Linked DNA regions of Homo sapiens: region 1 is linked to region 2. The links are contacts of gene promoters, found by promoter capture Hi-C in human tissues and cell types (Jung and others, 2019). All regions are on one chromosome and are shown on one strand. Each heading gives the region's core, a stretch centred on a gene start or on the middle of the fragment in contact. The rest is flanking DNA. Distances are from core to core; before and after follow the strand shown.

The links. The method cuts DNA at HindIII sites, captures the fragments that hold promoters and counts their contacts. A contact is called where the count stands out against the background at its distance.
Region 1: a contact is called between a fragment that was not itself captured here and the fragment with the promoter of CCDC178 in region 2, in 2 of the 25 tissues and cell types used here (dorsolateral prefrontal cortex and lymphoblastoid cells).

The regions. Positions count from the first base shown.
Region 1 is chr18:33,290,582-33,293,333 of GRCh38, forward strand. CCDC178 (coiled-coil domain containing 178) reads right to left here. Exons shown (of 23, transcript NM_001105528.4): 12 at 2,578-2,731. Among named protein-coding and RNA genes, the nearest start is that of CCDC178, 150 kb to the right of the region's middle. The HindIII fragment of the contact is 7,615 bases long and covers 1-2,752 here.
Region 2 is chr18:33,439,282-33,441,981 of GRCh38, forward strand. CCDC178 (coiled-coil domain containing 178) reads right to left here and starts at 1,440. Exons shown (of 23, transcript NM_001105528.4): 1 at 1,372-1,440; 2 at 681-800. The HindIII fragment of the contact is 6,939 bases long and covers 1-2,700 here.

The sequences.
Region 1 (2,752 bases), core at 16-2,515, 150 kb before region 2:
AAAATTTTAAATAAATGAACCAGATAATCCTGAAACCTATATGGAAGGGCAAGAATCAAGAAAAGCCTAGAACTCAAAAGAAAATATAAGATCAGAGGATTCACTATAATAGATAATTAACACCCATTATGGAATTTTCGTGACGTAGCCATGGAGTGTTCAGGTGAAGATGGTCAAATAGATCAAAGTAAAAAGTGAATGGAAAAAGATCCACACAAACATAAAAGCCTAATATGGGACAGAGATAGCACTGATTATAAATATATAAAGAAAACTCATCAGTAAATTGTATTGTAACAACTTGTTTTCTATATTATAAAAAAAGTAACTGGAAACTCACTTCACATTACACCCATACATTAATTTCTTATTAATTATGCATCACATCTGGCAAGTGAAACATGCATTCCAAAAATTGTAGAAATAGCTTTTTATTTCCAAATTTGTAAATAGAAGGCAGAGCGAGAAAAACAACCCTAAATTTTGAACATTCTAAACATAGTTTCATCTAAAACTATCACATAAATATTAAAAGCAGAATTCAGAAACATTGAGAATGAAATAACAGAAAATATTTTTATAATCTCAGGGGTGGGAAAATTTCTTAAACAAGTTCACAAAAGGAAAATGCACAAAGGAATGTATTTATACCTGATACTACATTAAACTGAAACGTCTCTTCATCAGAAGTTACCATAAAGAAATGAAAAAAGGTTGGGTAAATATATTTTTAACATTTGTAACTAGAAAATATTTAGTATCCATGATATATAAATTCTTACAAATCAGTGAGATGACACTCAGTATATAGCAGGAAAATCATGAGCAGGTTTTCACAGAAAAGGAAATACAAATCACCCTGCAAAAGTCATTAAAATATGTTCAGTTCCATTAATAACTAATAACAAACCATAATGAGGTACAATTAAAAAGCCTTATTGTAGAGAAGAATGTCTTTAACTCTAGGTAGGAATGCAAATTGGCATAATAATTTATATATTATTTCCTTTTACTATACTATTATTTATTTTATCTATTATGTTCTTATACAACAGTGAATGAGATATGGCAGAAAAAGAAAGCTTCATCTTCAGGAAAGATGAGTCATAATGAAAGGTCAGATGCTTCCAAGCAGGAGCACACCACTGCTGATTTTAGAGATGAAGAGAACAAACAGCCAGGGAATGCGGCAGCCTCTGAAAACTGAGTGTGATCTCAGGCTGACAGGTGCCAAGGAAACAAAGGCTTCAGTTCTCAAACCATAAGAATTAAATCATGTCAAAACTGCACACCCCAGTTAGAATGGGTACTATCAAAAAGACAAAAAATAACAAATGCTGTTGAAGATGCAGAGAAAAGGTACTCTTAAACGTTGTTGTTGGGACTATAAATGAACACAGCCACTGTGGAGTGGAGATCACAGCAGTATGGAGATTCCTCAAAAAAAAAAAAACCACTAAGAAAAGAATTACATATGATCCAACAATCCCACTGCTGGTTATATATCCAAAGAAAAAGGAATCAGTATGTCAAAGAGATATCTACACCTTCATGTTTACTGTGGCATAATTCACAAAACCTAAGATATGAAATCAACCTGCTTCCATCAATGGATGAGTAGATAAGAAAATGTGATGCACAATGGAATACTATTCAGCAATAAAAAGGAATGAATTCCTGTTATTTGCAGCAACATGGATGGAACAGGAGGGTATTATGTCAAGTGAAATAAGCCTAGCACAGAAAAATGAATACCATATGTTCTCATTCATACATGGAAGCTAAACAGGTTGATCTCACAGAAGCAGAGAGTAGAACAGTGATAACTAGAGACTAGGAAGGGTAGGGGGTAGGGACATAGAGAGAGGTTGGATAAGAGATAAAAAATTATAGCTTAATAGAGAAGTAAGTTTTAGTGTTCTTTAGCACTGTAGAGTGACTCTAGTTAATAATAATTCATTCTGTATTTTCCACGAGGATTTTCAAAATCCTCGAAAGAGGGCGATTTTGAATGTTACCAAAACAAAGAATGCTGAATGTTACCCTAATTTGATCATTACACATTGTATACAGGTATCAAAATATTACACTAGACCCCTTATAAAAATGTACAATTATTATGTGTCAATTGAAACAGAAACCGAAGAAGTTTTTGTCTGAAGTTTTTCTTCAGTTTTTGTTTTAATTGACACACAATAATTGTACATTTTATAGGGGGTCTAGTGTGATATTTTGATACCTGTATACTAAAAATAGTGTTATCCTGGAGTCTCCAGACAGAAGTGCCAGGCTACTGACACCCTGATTTTAGTCTTGCCAGACCTGGGGCAGAGCAACCACTTGAGCCATGCTGTGCCCAGACTTCTGACTTACGAAAAGGTTGAGATAATAAATGGGTCCTGTTTCAAGCTGCTAAATTTGTGGTAATTTGTTATGCAGCAATAGAAAACTAATACAGGCAAATTGGCTAAATATAAAAAAATTGGCCAATTGCTATTTAATTATTGACAAAAAAGTTTACTATTTATAACTCAAAACAAAAATCAGTATTTTTTATTTCTAATATGAAAAACTCACCATTTTTGATAGAGAATGTAATTCATTTTTTGATGACTTTGTTTCCCTTATTGCTTCAGTCACTTCCTCTTCCTTCTCCTCAATATTAGTATTAACATTTATCACTGATGAAGAGTAATGATCAAATAGACTGTTAAGTTGATATATCTCTCTCCTAGGGATAAAAACACAGTTT
Region 2 (2,700 bases), core at 190-2,689:
TGAGGATGTGGTAACAAATTAGTTGAGTCTAAGGTTGTGTTGAATCTGAGGTGGGAGCAGGAGAGAGAAGTCTGGGTTGTGGATAAAAGCTCTGGCAGCAATCCCAACCCATCCAGGGATAGTGGGTAGACTAACAATCAAACTCATATTTTCGATAGTTCTGGAAATTAGACAGATATAGTTTATAATAAAACTTTATGACTGCAACAGTAAAGTAAGAAGTATTATATATTCAAGATAGAAATACACTAGTTTCTGTACGAATGTCTAAATAACAATTGAACATAAATAGCTGAAAATCCTCTGGATTCTTGGATTTGTCTTACAACTAGTCATGTCTCTGAGTTCTTAAACTTGGTAAGTGGTGTTCTAAAACCTATTACTACAGCAGGACCAAGAAACAATATTTTGAGGGTAGGAGGGAGATGTCAAGAATGCTGTATTTGGGTCAAGATGCCCAGAGCAATCAATACACAACAGATTATCCAATGATAAATAGGAGTGATAAGCTACCAAGTCAATTCACAAATATTTATTGAGCAGTGGATGAATGTCAAGAAAACAATAATAGAAAATGCTTTGAATTGGCAATCGGGAGATTCTTATATTCCTGAGTTTGAAGATTGCTGGATCTGACTTTTGTCAAATCACAAATCAGCTCTGAATATCACTTTTCTCACCTGTAAAGGGGAGGTGTTGGCGTGGATCATCTTATTTGGGGTGCTTTCGAGCAAGCAAGTATAAAATTCTCAGCCTCTCCGCCAGGAAGTTGTTCAGTATTTGACTTGATTGAGCAGACACTTAAAAAATTAAATATCAAGAAAAGAAATCAATAACAGTTCAAAGGAATAATACATGAGCCACCACAAGGCGGCCTTATAAGCAAAATAAAAGTTGAAATAATTATTTTAAAGGAATAAGACGCTAGAGACGCAGTTACAGACAAGACGAAGTTCCTCTAGGCGGCCAGCGGAGGGAGACTCTGCTTCCCTTCCCCCGGCAGTGGGGACTGGGGGACTGGGGGACTGGGGGACTGGGGGACTGGGGGACTGGGGGACTGGGGACAGGGGTTGGAGGACTGGGAAACTGGAGGACGGAGAACAGGGGGACAAAACGACTGGGGGACTGGGGAATTATGGGACTGGGGATTTGGGGAATTGTTTTCAAACGCGCGGGGCAAGGACTCCCCACCGCCTCTGGAAGGGGTGAAGAACTAGTCGACTCTAACTCCCTCAGGGTGGCCAGGGAATTGCATTTGGTTCTCCCGCGGGAGTCGCGCAGGCGGGCGGCCAGGGGGAGTGGGCGCCGCCCGGCAGCGCCCCGCGCCGAGGCACAAGCGCCCGCGCCGAGGCACAAGCGCCCCCGACTCACCGGCTCCGCGCGTTTCCCCGCGCGTCTCCCGGACCCGCGCCTGCCCACCCCTCCGGCTCTGCTGCGGTCGAGGCCCCAAGTCGGTTATCCCGTGTCCAGGCAACCGCGGGGGCGGCGGCGGCGGCGTGAGGAGCGGGCGGCTGCTGCTCCGGGGCCTCCTGGCTCGAGCCCTTAGCCCCCGACTCCCGGCGTTTCGGCGCCCGATCAGCGCTCCAGGCCGCCCCCGCTCCGCCTTCTCCCAGTGCCTTTCCCTTTCTCTTGTAACCGATTTGCCAACCCAACTCCTTTCCCTCTTTACCGGAGAGGGAAGGAGTGGAGACGAGTCAACGCCCCTTCGTACAGCAGTGAGGTTAGAACGTGAGGGGATCACAGACTTCGTCCACCTTCGGGAGGACCGCAGGACCTCTTTCTTTCTTGCCACTTGGGATGATACAACCAGGACTCCATGCGATAACCCCATGTGGTTTGGTTGTGACTTCAGTATTGAGAAACCTCAACAAACTGTTAAGGAAGAAAGAACTTTTCCTAGTGTCTGAAAGTGGGGAAAATGACTAATTCAAGACTAATTCAAGCCATTTCTCTAAGGGTCTGTTTCTTTCAAAAACAAATTTTTGAAGCATTGATCCTTCTGACAAAATACTAAGTGGCAGGCCGGGTGTGGTGGCACAACCCTGTGCCAGGCGTGTCCTGTCCCAGGACTTTGGGAGGCCGAGGCAGGAGGATTGCTTGAGCCCAGTGGTTAGAGGCTGCAGTGAACTGGGATCGTGCCACTGCACTCCAGCCTGGGCGACAGATCAATAAATACATAAATCAGTGGCACAAAATGTATTACCTACATTTTGTTTCTTCATCTGTGAATATACACTGTGAACTGAAATAGGCTTCAGAGGACAGTCGTGTCTTACACTATTGTCACCGTCTTCTTCAATGAAAACAAACACTGGACTATAAACTGAAGATGGTTAAAAAAAAAAAACAGAATCAGAATAAAGATTAGCATTCTCATCCAGAGAAATCATTTTTCCAGGCAACACTGAGAACAGGCAATTGCCTGCCAAGGTTAAATCAGCAAAGTCTATTACTTTAAGAGGCAATTTAATTAGTAATCCTTTCTAAGAGGGGAAAACCAGCAAGTCCGTACCTGGAATGTGGTCCTTTCAGCCAAAGATGAAAAAAAGGAAGCAATAACTAACAAACTGGTGGAAGGTCTTAATCTTAAATTAATATATGCAGAAGCAGAGCTCTTTTTGTAATTAAAAAATGGATTCAAGAATGCACTCCACTTTCCCATCTCCCTCCATTAATTATTAAACTTTGGCTTGTTCTCAA